5 separate regions of the Homo sapiens genome follow, and regions 1, 3, 4 and 5 are each linked to region 2. Evidence: promoter capture Hi-C in human tissues and cell types (Jung and others, 2019). All regions are on one chromosome and are shown on one strand. Each heading gives the region's core, a stretch centred on a gene start or on the middle of the fragment in contact. The rest is flanking DNA. Distances are from core to core; before and after follow the strand shown.

What was found. The method cuts DNA at HindIII sites, captures the fragments that hold promoters and counts their contacts. A contact is called where the count stands out against the background at its distance.
Region 1: a contact is called between a fragment that was not itself captured here and the fragment with the promoter of NFE2L1 in region 2, in 1 of the 25 tissues and cell types used here (bladder).
Region 3: a contact is called between a fragment that was not itself captured here and the fragment with the promoter of NFE2L1 in region 2, in 1 of the 25 tissues and cell types used here (mesendoderm cells).
Region 4: a fragment that was not itself captured here is called in contact with the fragment with the promoter of NFE2L1 in region 2 in 1 of the 25 tissues and cell types used here (H1 embryonic stem cells).
Region 5: a contact is called between a fragment that was not itself captured here and the fragment with the promoter of NFE2L1 in region 2, in 1 of the 25 tissues and cell types used here (mesenchymal stem cells).

Annotation. Positions count from the first base shown.
Region 1 is chr17:48,496,531-48,499,230 of GRCh38, forward strand. No RefSeq gene overlaps it. Among named protein-coding and RNA genes, the nearest start is that of HOXB1, 33 kb to the right of the region's middle. The HindIII fragment of the contact is 6,789 bases long and covers 1-2,700 here.
Region 2 is chr17:48,047,050-48,049,797 of GRCh38, forward strand. NFE2L1 (NFE2 like bZIP transcription factor 1) reads left to right here and starts at 1,310. Exons shown (of 6, transcript NM_003204.3): 1 at 1,310-1,413. It overlaps NFE2L1-DT (NFE2L1 divergent transcript), which reads right to left and starts at 1,004. Exons shown (of 2, transcript NR_170231.1): 1 at 576-1,004. It also overlaps a transcript of COPZ2 not described here. RefSeq lists enhancers at 82-685, 530-719, 686-1,287, 790-1,029, 1,288-1,889 and a silencer at 1,440-1,719. The HindIII fragment of the contact is 14,336 bases long and covers 1-2,748 here.
Region 3 is chr17:48,341,794-48,344,674 of GRCh38, forward strand. All of the region lies in intron 4 of SKAP1 (src kinase associated phosphoprotein 1), which reads right to left. Among named protein-coding and RNA genes, the nearest start is that of SKAP1-AS2, 49 kb to the left of the region's middle. The HindIII fragment of the contact is 7,800 bases long and covers 1-2,881 here.
Region 4 is chr17:48,359,440-48,362,221 of GRCh38, forward strand. The region is part of intron 3 of SKAP1 (src kinase associated phosphoprotein 1); the gene reads right to left. Among named protein-coding and RNA genes, the nearest start is that of SKAP1-AS2, 66 kb to the left of the region's middle. The HindIII fragment of the contact is 4,001 bases long and covers 1-2,782 here.
Region 5 is chr17:48,400,622-48,403,321 of GRCh38, forward strand. All of the region lies in intron 1 of SKAP1 (src kinase associated phosphoprotein 1), which reads right to left. Among named protein-coding and RNA genes, the nearest start is that of SKAP1, 28 kb to the right of the region's middle. The HindIII fragment of the contact is 6,433 bases long and covers 1-2,700 here.

The DNA.
Region 1 (2,700 bases), core at 102-2,601, 450 kb after region 2:
TGGTGAAACCCCGTCTCTATTAAAAATATTTTTAAAAAAAGTTAGCTGGGCATGCTGGCGGGCGCCTGTAGTCCCAGCTACTTAGGAGGCCGAGGCAGGAGAACCGCTCGAACCCGGGGGGTGGAGATTGCAGTGAGCTGACATCACGCCATTGCACTCCAGCCTGGGTGACAGAGCCAGACGCCGTCTCAAAAAAAAAAAAAAAATACTAGTACAATTCCTTCCCTCAGCTGTGTATTGTCTTTTAAAGGGAGATATCTGAAGACATATCAAATAAATGCAATAAAATGCTGTTAGGTTTGTGACAGAAGTCTGCATAGGGAACACTGGGGTGCCAAGGAAGAAGTGGTCAGTTCTCTCCCATGCCTATGTGGTGCTCTGCACGCTATTGGTGTCCCATATGTGTTGGATGAATGAATGAGCTTACAAATAGCTTGGAGTAGAAGATCTGAGTGGGTGGAATAGTAGGAAGGGAAAGAAACCTACCTGCCCCCAGCAATGCTATGAGACGAAAAACCAGCTAAATTAAAGGGAATAGGAATGGGGTTATACATCCCTGCAAACAACCCCTGGAAACTGACATATCTAATAGATATACCCTGAAGCTGGTACTCTCTTATTTTAATTTTTTTTTAAGTTAAATAAATGAGTCAGGGTTTCACTATGCTACCCAGGTTGGTCTCAAACTCCTGGGCTCAAGTGATCCTCCCGTCTCAGCTTCCCAAAGTGCTTGGATTACAGGCATAAGCCACCACTTCCTGCCTAGTATGTCTCAGACGTAAGCCACTACTCCCAGCCTAGTACTCTCTTCCTTTCTGATCTAACTCTTAGAAAATCCCAAGGCTAGATTTCCTGGCCAAAACAAGTTGAGCAGGGTAAGGACAAAGGGAGGGCTTTCTCCCACCCATATCAGAAGACTTGAATCCCTGCCTGCCCAGATCATTATATAGAAGGAAAAAAGTCATTTATATTATACTATATTATACTATACTATATTATATTGTATTATCCCTGCCTACCCAGATCACTATATAGAAGGGAAAATGTCATTGTGCTGATTTCCAAAGAAGCTGGGCAAGGATGAACCAAGCCTCTCCAATCTTCATATGATCAAAGGCCACATTGTGTCTTGTTGCACATAGGCTTCCCTCACTCTGCAGCGTAGGGTCTGATGCGCACAAAGGAAGATAAAATTATAGACTTCTCTGTCTGATGGCTCACAGACTTCACCAGACACAAAGAGTGTTGGATGAGAGTATGTGGGTAAAGCAGCAAAACCAGCCCAACCTAAGTAGAAGAACCCCCAAATTGTGCCCACTCAGGGAGGGTAAGGATTGATAGCTTCCTTTGAGATATAGTGTATTCCTTTCATTTATATTTTGGCTTGAGATGCTAAAATGCAAGGAGGAGTGGAATAGCTGTCAAATTTACTAATGGGATCCATCTTCATAACGCAGATCTTCAGAAAACTTCTTGCAGCATAATAATTCAACTCTCCTCAGAACTTTCCTTCATTTCTGCCCTCTTGGGGAAGGGAGCAAAGAAAACTAGGCATTTCCCATTCAGCCCTGTGTCCGTTTGATGCACTGAGATCCCCTGCCTGGTTAACTTCAGGTTTTTCCCATCAAAAATCTCAGAGAGAACCCCAAACATTAGCGGATGTTAACAGGCAGTCCACAGTTACTGCCACCCAACAATCTCCTTCTGCTGACCCCTGGCTCCAAACTGGATTCAGTCAATGCGCTTGACTTTTCCCACACTTCCTGCTTCCAGTCAAAGAAAATGCAGCAGAGCCTGTTTTCCAGTGTAAGCATGTAAATTCCACACTCATCAACTTCAGGCTTTTGCAGCTGTTGGCTTGAGCCCTGCTCAGGACACAGAGAGACAGAGACAATAGAATTTGTTTTGAAAATCTGTCCTTCGAGTTAAAAAGATGGTGTCACTAATTCTTGTCTGGAGGACCTGTAATTTCAATGTTTCTGCAGGACTAGAGAGAGAAGTCACGAAGACCCAGAACGCTTCTTTACCAGTGTGCCTTGGTAATCAGACTGAGAGCTTTTGCTAATGCTAGGTAATTCTATTTGGCTCAACAAACATGTGTTGAGTGCCTACTAAATGCCAGGCACTGTGACAGGTGCTGGCAATTATTGCTAACAGCCCGTGCTTGTGTAGTATTTGGCCAGGGTTAGAGATGCTGTTAGGTGGCTGGGGGAAAAAAAAGGACTGAAGGGAGAACTGAATTCATCATTATAGCTTATCCTCTTTCAGAAAGCTTCTTAACACTACTTCAGGTGAGAAACACAATCAGCAGCACAAAGAGGTCATGTCTCAGGATAACACATTTGCATCAAGTCAGCTACTTTGTCTCCACTTCTGAATAATGGCATAGTAGGCAGAGCTTGGCATCTGGAGTCAAAAGAGCTAGGCTCAGATTCCAACCTCTCCGTTTAGTTGTGTGAGCATGGGCAAGTCGCCTGACCTCCGAGCCTTGGTTTCCAATTATATGAATTCGAAATAAAAATACTTGCCCTGTCCGGATCACTTGAGGTCAGGAGTGTGAGAACAGCCTGGCCAACATGGTAAAACCCTGTCTCCACTAAGAATACAAAAATTAGCCAGGCATGGTGGCAGGCACCTGTAATCTCAGCTACTTGGGAGGCTGAGGCAGGAGAATTGCTTGAACCTGGGTGGGTAGAGGTT
Region 2 (2,748 bases), core at 60-2,559:
GAGTGGTTTGCTGGTGTACGTTTATTATATGCAGTGAAAGTACTTAATCTGCAAACCACCCCAAATTAAGCCCCTAACTCGCAAGCACAAAATGGACTCGATTATTTACTGAGTTATCAGTTGGCCTTGTCCTTAGTTGTACAGGGACTAATGACTCACCTATAAATAATGGGCTCTTCTAAGAAGACACAGTTGAGTTGACACCTCTTTGTCCTATAGCTGGGAGGAACGCATTGCAAACGCCAACCCAATGATTCCCTAAATGGGGTCTTCGCATCAGCTGCGTTAAAATCACCCCAGCAGGCAGGTTATCCGGCCGCCACTCCAGGGTCATTAAATCAGACTCTCCAGTGGGACCTCGGAATTCGTAGCTTAGCAAGCTCCCCAAGTGATGCTGGGAGTAAACTAACGTTTGAGAGTCACAAACATGTTTTGGCAATATAACCAGATGGGACTGGAGAAATTAAAAAATGAGAAACATCCCTAAAAAAGCAAGACTAAGCTGCGTGGGAGGCCAAACGAGGGGGGTCCTTTGGGCTGTTTCTACCATGACAAAAATCGCCATTACCCCACACCTCTCACACCGCCAACGTTCCGCCAACGTTCCGCCAACGTCCCACCACCCTCATGATATCCGTCCGCGGTACTGCTCCAGCGAAGGTACCCTTGCCTGGGCCATGAGGCGCAACCGTCCCTCACAGCTGGGGTGGCTTCTCCAGGTTCGCACCGAGGGGAAGTTGGGGTACCGGTTTCCGCCGCCAGCACCCAAGATGGCGGCACGAGCGTCGCAACCACAAGAACCACATGCTTCGTGTCCCGCCTCAGCATTCTCGGGTCTCACTAGACTTTTGCAAGTCACTGTGGGAACCCTCAAGGCGAGGGTGTTCCGCACTCTGGCGGCGATACACCTTCCTATTCCCTGACCTAGGCCTTCATTCCCCCGCCACAGAAAGCGCTGGAAGCGCCCAACCTGGATACTTCACCCAACGCCCAAGCCCACTAACATCGCCCGCCGCGAAGGCGCGGCCGAGGGGCCCAGAATGCCAGACACTAGGGCCTTCGCCCTCCTCATTGGTGGGTCCATACCGCGGGGCGGGCCTAGGTACTCATTGGGCCGGGAATTATGTCAGTCTTGGGAAATCAGGTCCGGGGATGAGGAGGTACACTCAGCCATTGGGCCCTCTCTGCTGCCAATCAGAGGGACATCCGTCGACGGCCCCGGCCTCGGCTCGTTGATTGGAGAAACTGTTCCTAGGGTGTTTGCGGCGGGCGGGTTTCCGAGTGCGGTAGCAGGAGGGGGCGGGGAGGTAAGCGGAGGCTCCGAGCTCTAGGCCGGCCGGCGGTGGCGGCGGCGAGGCCGGGACTCGGGCTTAGGGCCTGCTGTGGAGGCAGCGGCGGACGCCGAGCTAAGCAGTGGGTATCGGGCACATTCCTTTCCCAGAAGGGAGGGTTGCAGCGCCGCGGGGCCGAGGCTTATGGGGCGACGGGATGGTGCTGAGGTGCAGGAGGCGGGGGCCGAGCGGGGTTCCCGCCAGAGCCCGGCCCTGGGCCTGACAGGGAGGGGCCCCGCGCGGGGCCGAGAGGAAAGCTGGCTCCGGGGTGGGATGGACTGGGCAGGGTTGAGGGCACGAGAAGGCGTGGTGTGAGGCCTGGACTTGGGAGTGGGGTGGGGCCATCGGGACGGAGGGCGGGGTGGGGTTTGCTGTAAGGGTGGGTCAAGGCCAGGGAAGTAGCACTTGTTCGCTGGCCGCCCCTGGAGGCTAGAAGCTCCGGCGCCGAGAGTGGGCATGGCGACTTGGTCTCAGCCGGACTCGGGTATCCGGGCAGGGTGGGACCAGCCTCAGGCTATGGGCCCTGCACCTACTTGATTTTTAAGGGACTTTGTCCGGTTCCTCGAACTTAATTGGCTCCTGGGAGGTTTTAGTAATAAATTGCGTGAGAACGGGAGGGTAGCGTAAGCAGGAATTCTGGGTCGCAATTGTGTTTACTCTGACCAGAGAGAGGGAGTGTGAGTGTGTGTGTGTGCGCACGTTCGTGTGTGTACGTATAGCTCGCTCTCCCCCTGTAGAATGAAGTTGGTAGATGGGTCACAACGCAGGAGAGGAGAGGCGGTATGTCTTGGTTTGTGACATTAATGGAAGCTCAAAAGTGGAGACCAGAAACAGATTTACTTCCTCTGCACTGGGCAGTCTGGCTAGAGAACGTGGCCATATCCTTCTGCTTTGGCTCAGAAGGTCATATGAATGAAAATAAAACCTGCCTATGCAAATTCTGGACGGAATAGTCCTGCGTAGTAGGGCCCCCACCATCCCTCTCCTTTTTTTCTTTCCTTTTCTTTTCTTTCTTTTTTTTCTTTTTTTGAGACGGAGTTTTGCTCTTGTTGCCCAGGCTGGAGTGCAGTGGCGCGATATCGGCCCACCACAACCTCCGTTTCCTGGGTTCAAGCGATTCTCCTGTCTCAGCCTCCCGAGTAGCTGGGATTACAGGCATGCGCCACCACGCCCGGCTAATTTTTGTATTTTTAGTTGAGATGGGGTTTCTCCATGTTGTTCAGGCTGGTCTCAAACTCCCGACCTCGGGTGATCCGCCCTCCTCGGCCTCCCGAAGTGCTGGGATTACAGGCGTCGGCCCTTTTCCTTTTTTTTCTTTTGTAAGTTGTGAGGATAGGAAAGGGAAATCAGATTTCAAAGTTCAGAAAACAAAAGGCATTCTTCTTCTGGGTGAAGTGGTGGCCTGAACATTGTCCTT
Region 3 (2,881 bases), core at 313-2,812, 290 kb after region 2:
AGCTCTAAAATATTCTCACTTCTATCCAGATTTAATTGTTCAATATCCATTCACCCATTCTTTAATTAGAACGTAAACATATATAACAAATAAATACATTATCATAGATTTTAGGTTTCTTCTAAAATAATTTTATTTTTTCTTTTTCTTCCAGAAGGAGTCACTATATCCTGCTTACAGAATGATCACTTTCCCCAATCCACTTTAAAAAATAATGTAGGTATGCAGGGATTCTTCATTATACTAACAAAGTAAGTTTATAAATACATTAAAATCCACTGTATATTTGGACGCTGAAAACAATCAGATCTTGAGCTTTGTAGTTGCCTGGCTCTTGTACTAAGTATTGTGGTCAGTGTTTCCTACTACATTTTTTTCCTTCCATATGGTAAAAACTATGCTTTTAGTTCAGAAATCTAAATGTTATTACTTGTTAGCAAGTTTTTGTTCCCGATGGTGGGGCTGTGCTCTTGTGGGTGTCTCTCTCTGCCTTCAAATTGTGGGCATTTACAAAGGAAAAGGAGAAGGAATTGTAATTAGGTAGCAACAGGCTCTCATTTTTATGCATGGGTTAGCCTGTAACCTTGGTTTTCATTTTTTGCTGTGTACCTGGCCAGGTTTCTATATTCTTCTAGCACTCTTTGTAGTTTTCACAAAGTCATGACCTAAACACAATATGCAGCATGCTTCTATATTCTTCTAGCACTCTTTGTAGTTTTCACAAAGTCATGACCTAAACACAATATGCAGCATGGTTACTGCCCCTCATCACTAAAATTATGGGTGGATGGGCCCGACTGTGTATCCTTTTATAATGGCAAGTCTAGGATACTACTCTAGCTGACAGTGGAAGACAAAATATCTGAAATATTTTCACATTTTCTAATGAAGACAAAATTCGAGAAGCCTAAAATAACTGTCATTACAAAGAATGTTAAAGAGGAATATCTGGGAGGCCAAGGCGGGTGGATCACGAAGTCAGGAGATCGAGACCATCCTGGCTAACACGGTGAAACCCCGTCTCTACTAAAAATACAAAAAATTAGCCAGGCGCGGTGGCCGGCGCCTATAGTCCCAGCTACTTGGGAGGCTGAGGCAGGAGAATGGCGTGAACCCAGGAGGCAGAGTTTGCAGTGAGCCGAGATCCCACCACTGCACTCTAGCCTGGGTGACAGAGCGAAACTCTGTCTCAAAAAAAATAATAATAAAAAATAAAGAGGAATATTTTTTCTTCATAAATAATTGACTTAGCTATCTATAAAGACACTAACTTTATATTTTTTTATTTGTCTACTTATTAATAGTTTTCCCAGTGAGATGGTAAGCTCCATGAGGGCAGGGACTGTATCTGCTTTCTCACTGCATTTTTCACCTGCAGCTTAACACAGTGTCTTGGTGTTAACTAGGAATCTTTAAACAAACATTTGTTTAAAAAAATGAATAAGTAGCATATCAAGTGTTACCATTCTCTATAATGGTAAAAACTAATTAAATAGGATATAGAGATTGCTAAAAATTTTGACACCTTTATAACTTTCTCTTTAATTTCACAGGAAATGTATGTATCTTTAATTTTCAGGGGATGAAAATGAACATTTATTGTGCCTGTTATGTATTAGGCACTCAGGCACTGTGCTAGATTCAATGCTTTGCAGAAACTCACATTTAAACAGTATCACATCATCTTACAATCAAGTTTTTAACATAGAAATAGGTCTATTCCTACCTCTACCATTGACTATGTCACTTTGGGAATTCTTTAATTTCATGCATAGAACTAAAAACAAAAATTTATTAAGTAAGAATTTAATATTACTAATATAATTAACTCCTCTTATGAGTTTTGCACTTTGGAGTTTTCCAGATTTACCTCTTTCAACACAAATGTTTTTCCTAAATTTCAACTATTTTAATGAAAATATTTTTAAGCATAGTATTTTTATCTGTATGGTCTTAGCCAAAATGTTTGGAGTATGAATCTGCCAAAATGTTTGGAGTATGAATCTATTTTTTTGGATATCTCAGATAAGGATAGTGGTAAGGATAGTAGAGTGGTTAAGAGCAGAGGTTTTAGAACCAGACTATGTATGTGTAAATCCTGGCACTACTACGTACCAGCTGTGTGATTTTAGATAAGTTAACTTCCCTGAGTCTGTTTCCTTGTCTGTAAAATAAGGGTAAACCTAATATCCACATTTTAGGGCAGTCTTGAGGATCAAATGATGACATATGCAGAGTGCTTACCATACAGATGATGCAAGGCAAATAGTAAGTGCTCAATAAACAATAAATGCTGGCTAAAGAAGTTTTAATTTATTAAGGTACTGAGCACTTAGGTGAGCATGCACTCTTTTTCTCTATCATAGAAAATGACCCCAAACTGCTATTTAAAAAAAATTATTCTTAGATAAATTTTATTTATAGATTTTGTTTTCTATATAAAGTTTTGTTCTTGTTTCTTACCTTAATCTTATTGTTAATTGATGCCTTTATAGTACCCCTTCTTCTAATTTGAAGCTCTACTGTGGGCTGAGAAACCAAAACACTGTATTGGTTAGAAACTTGTAAGAAGATTCCTCAGCAAAGGGCCTTAGGGGTTCTTCCAAGAGCAAGGTACATAAGTCACATCTATTTCCACTTAGAGGCCTTTCTGGATTACTTATTGTGTTCTCAGTTGTGTTTGGGAAAGTTGGAAATACCAAATAAGTGACCTAAGGATTAATGAGGCATTATTGTTCTAATTCTGTCAAGCATTAGAATAATCAAAAACAAATGAAAAGTTGATTTCTTCCTGTTTTGCACTGTTAATTTTCTACAATTATTAATCAGCTACCAATGTAATTATTAAACTTTCAATCCAAACAATGTTTTTAGTGTAATA
Region 4 (2,782 bases), core at 4-2,503, 310 kb after region 2:
CTCATAGATGTCATTTTTTAATAGTTTGCTTGACTCAGAATGCACAAAGTTTATACATTCGTTGGTAAACCTCTTAAATCTCTTAATTTACAGTTAACATGGCTTTATAATTTCCTTATTCACTTAGCACTATTTGTTTTTGCCAGGCTATATTTTTATTTGTTTATTTCTTTGTTTGTGTGTTTGGGACAAGGTCTCGCTCGGTCTCCTATGCTGAAGTGCAGTGGCGCGATCTCGGCTCACTGCAGTCTCAACCTGCCAGGCTTGAGTGATCCTCCCACCTCAGCCTCCCAAGCAGCTAGGACTACAGGCCTGTGCCACCATGCCCAGCTAATTTTGTTTTTTTTGTAGACACAGGGTCTCACCATGTTGCCCAGATTGATCTCAAACTCCTGGGCTCAAGCAATCTACCTGCTCAGCCTCCCAAAGTGCTGGGACTACAGGCATGAGCCACTGTGCCTGGCCTGCCAGGCTATATTATTAGGCATCGATTTACTTTGACGTGAATATAGGCTTGCCATTTCAAAATGAGATTTTTAAGCTTCACAAAGTAGAATTTTTTCATAATGAAATATACTGAATAATTTTCTCAGAAACCTTTTACACCACTCATAGAGATACTCAAAGAATCTTTAAGTTGGCAAGAGATTCCACTGGCCCATGTTTACCACTACCACAAATGTAATGTGAGTGACCACTGGATAAAAAAAAGATATTATTCTATATAATATTCCCATGGTCTTCCCTAGATTTTTATTTAAATATTATGTCATTTGTTTTAGATTCTGGGTCTATGGTGGGAAATTCAATCTAATATTCATGAAGATTTTTTTATAGCAAATAAATTTTGAATTATAAACATTATACCTTATAATCAAATTTTTTATTAAAACTATCACTAACTCATTTTATAAAAGGGGAAACTGAAGCAAAATGAAGGAAATCAGTTTGCTCAATAACTTTAAGTGATATTGCCATCAAATCTAAGGGCAAAATTAATATTCCCTTATCGATATCACCTTTTAGATATTGATTACTGAAATTATAAAAATTCCATGGCAAAAACTCCGCTGGCTTTTCTTTGTAACTTTAAGTAAAAAATTAAGTAGAAATTTTTTTTGAGTAAGCAGGACATGAATTATTAAAGCAATATTATGTCTTATTGTCAAGTAAAAATAAAAAGCCTCTTTCATGTTCTCCAATTATGTTTAAGCTCATTAAAAGTGCCCTTCCATTTATATCCCCTCTACATTAAAGTAATGTATTCTTTGGATCATGTTTTATTTTCCCTGTTTCCTTTTTAAAATAAATATCATTCAGGAAGTTGACAGTGGACCAATAAAAAAACGCAGGTGGAAATGTGAGAGAAAGAATTACCATTAATGTCCCATTATGATAAATAGAAACTACTGGCTTTTTTTTTCCCACTATGTCAAGGTACTAAGCTCGATGCTTACACACATTACTACTAATCTTCAACAACCTTGCAATGAGACAGTGAAAAACAGTCACGAAGAGTATGGGCTCTCGACCTCTGGAGATAATGGGCTCTAGAATCCATACAGGGTTTCTTATTGGGGTGATGAAACGTTCTGAAATTAGATAGTGGTGATGGTTGCACAACTTGTACTGTACTATACTATACTATACTATACTATACTATACTATACTATACTATACTATACTGTACACCACTAACTTGTACCTTTTAAATGGGTAAATTTTATGGTATGTGAATTATATCTTGATAAGGCTGCCTTGGTTTTTTTTTTTTTTTCTTTTTGAGACAGAGTTTTGCTCGTGTTGCCCAGGCTTGAGTGCAATGACACAATCTCGGCTCACTGCAACCTCCGTCTCCCAGGTTCAAGCGACTCTCCTGCCTCAGCCTCCCAAGTGGCTGGGACTACAGGCATGCACCACCACTCCCAGCTAATTTTTTGTATGTAGTAGAGACAGGGTTTCACCATGTTGGTCAGGCTGGTCTCGAACTCCTGACCTCAGGTGATCCACCTGCCTGCCTCAGCCTCCCAAAGTACTGGGATTATAGGCATGAGCCACCGCACCCGGCCAAGGCTGCTATTTTTAAAATGTGTGCTACTAAAAGGATATACAAATAATGGATCTTTTATAATTAAAGACTATTTTCCTTCCAGGCACCAGACCTGGTTTAGTTCAAATATCTTGAAGAACTCAAGTGTGTTTTTAGGCAGATGCAGAGTTAATAAAATTCATCCCATCATCTTCTTGTACAGAGGGTCCTGTCACAGATAAAAATGCTCAGAAAGTTTGGGGCCAGCATTTCTGTTCTTTCTCACTCCCATCCCAACACCACCCAGTTTTCCAGGGCTTTTAAGATTCTTCTGCTAGTTGTTCTCTTTCTTACATATTTCTAATCTTTTCATAATCTTAAATTGTCCTGTTGTACCTTATCTAAACCACTTACTCCTCCTACCCATCCCACCAGCTTCTGAAGCACATAATCAGCTAAGGTCTGATCAAAAGGGCAAGGTAAAAGATACCCTCTCACTAACTCCTCCTACCCCTGAAAATATCTGTGAGAAGTCATGAGACTGGGGGCTAGGGCATGAGTTTTTCTATGTCATCTTTCCTTACATTTACTTCCAAATGCACTAAGACTTTGCCACATATATTTAATCATTGTCAAGAAGCAAATACAGTTTTCTGTTCTAAATAAACTATTTTCACTTGTCTCCTTGGCTGCTCTACCTCTGTCCTCTCTCCAAGAGAGAAAGGATGGGTAGAAGCTGCTTTATGTTGAAAG
Region 5 (2,700 bases), core at 139-2,638, 350 kb after region 2:
CATCTGTGGTCCCAGCTGCTCAGGAGGCTAAGGTGGCCTCATTTGAGCCCAGGGAGGTTGAGGCTGCAGTGAGCTGAGATCACATCACTGCACTCCAGGCTGGGTGACAGAGCAAGACCTTATCTCAAAAATAAAAATTAAAAAAAAAGAAAAGAAATAAAGCAGGTAAAAGAATTAAGAATTAAGCACTTACGAATAAATAGAACATATTCTATGTTCATGATCAGAAGACTTAATATCGTTAAAATGGCAATACTCCCCAAACTGATCTAAAGCTTTTATGTAACCCCTATCAAAATCCCAGCTGGCTTTTTTTGTAGAAATTGAAAAGCTAATCCTAAAATTAACTTGGAAATGTAAGGAATCCAGATAGCCAAAACAATTTTGAAAAAGAGAGACAATGGCCGGGCGTGTTGGCTCACACTCGTAATCCCAGCACTTTGGGAGGCTGAGACGGGTGGATCACCTGAGGTCAGGAGTTCAAGACCAGACTGGTCAACACGGAGAAACCCTGTCTCTACTAAAAATACAAAAATTAGCTGAGTGTGGTGGCTAGTGCCTGTAATCCCAGCCACTTGGGAGGCTGAGGCAGAATAATTGTTTGAACCTGGGAGGCCGAGGTTGCAGTGAGCCGAGATCATGCCACTGCACTCCAACCTAGGCAACAGAGCAAGACTCTGTCTCAAAAAAGAAAAAAAAAAGGAAAGAAAAAGAAAGACAAATTTGGAGGACTCACACTTTCTGACTTCAAAACTTACCACAAAACTACAGCAATTAGGAAAATATGGTACTGGCATAAGGACAGAGATAAAGTTCAAAGGAATAGAATTGGGAATCCAGAAATAAACCCTCACACTTATGGTCAATTTTTGCAAGAGGGTCAAGACAATTAAATGTTGAAAAAGTTGTTTTTTCAACAAATGGTGCTGAGACAACTGAGTATACACATGCAAAAGAATGAAGTTGGATTCCTACCTCACACCATATAAAAAAATTAACTAAAAATGGATCAAAGACCTAAATATAAGAGCTAAAACTATGAAACTCTTAGAAAAAGACAGGTGTAAATCTTTGGGTCCTTGGATTAGGTAATGGTTTCTTAGATATGACACCAAGAAAAAAAAAGCAACCAAATACAAAAATAGACAAACAAGGCATCATCAAATTTAAAAGCTATTGTGCTTCAAAGAAGGCCAACAAGAAAGCAAAAGGATAACCCACAGAATGAGAGAAAAGCTTTTGCAAATCATATAGCTGATGAAAGACTTGTATGTAGAATATATTAAAACTCTTATATTTCAGTAATAATAAGACAAATAGCCCAACTGAAAAATGAGAAAAGGAACTGAATAGACATATCTCTAAAGAAGATACACAAATGACCAATAAGCACATTAAAAGATGTTCAATATCACTAGCCATCAGGGAAATGCAAATCAAAATCATGAAATACCACTTCACACCCACTAGAATGGTTACAGGCGAAAAGAACAACAATGAATGTTGTTGAAAATGTAGAAAAATTGGAAACCTTATACATTGCTGGTAGGAATGTAAAACAGTGCAGCCACTTAGAAAAATAATCTAGCAGTTCCTCAAAAGGCTAAACAGAGAATTATCATAGGATCCAGAAATTATATTACTAGGAAATACCCAAAAGAAATGAAAACAGGTGCTGACACAAAAACTTTACACAAATATTCATAGCAGCATTTTTTTTTTTTTTGAGACAGAGTCTCGCTCTATTGCCCAGGCTGGAGGGCAGTGGTGCGATCTCAGCTCACTGCAACCTCTGCCTCCCGGATTCAAGTGATTCTCGTGCCTCAGCCCCCCAAGTAGCTGGGATTACAGGTGCATGCCACCATGCTGGGTTAATTTTTGTATTTTTAGTAGAGATGGGGTTTCATCACTTCGCCCAGGCTGGTCTTGAACTCCTAGACTCAAGCAAACTGCCTGCCTTGGCTTCCCAAATTGCTGGGATTACAGGCGTGAGCCACCATGCCTGGCATAGCAGCATTATTCTTAATAGCTAAAAAGTGGAAACAACCCAAATATCCATTAACTGATGAATGGATAGATAAAATGTAGCATACAATGGAATATTATTCAGCAATAAAAGGAAATGAAATGCTGATATGTGCTACAACATGGATGAATCTTTAAAATCATTATGCTAAGTGAAAGGAGCCAGTCACAAAGGACCACATATCGTATGATTCCATTTACATGAAATGTATAGAATAGGCAGATCTAAAGAGACAGAAAGTAGATAAAGAAAGTCAGGAAGAGGGATTGGAGAGTGAAGGCTAAGAGGTTCAGGTTTTCTTTCGGTGTAATGAAAATGTTCTAAAATTTACTGTGGTGATAGTTACACAATTCTGTGAATATACTAGAAGCCATTGAGTTGTATGCTTTAAATGTGTGAGTTGTATAGTATGTGAATTATATCTCAATGAAGCTGTTTAAAAAAATAAATAAATACCTGTAATCTCAGCATTTTGGGAAGCCAAGGTAGGAGAACTGCTTGAGCCCAGGAGTTCAAGACAAGCCTGGGCAAAAATCAAGACCCTGTCTCTACAAAAAAAAAAAAAAAAAGTTTTTAATTAACTGGACATGGTGGTGCACGCCTGTAGCTACTTGGGAGGCTGAGACAGTAGGATCCATTGAGCCCAGGAGTTCAAGGTTGCAGAGAGCGGTGAT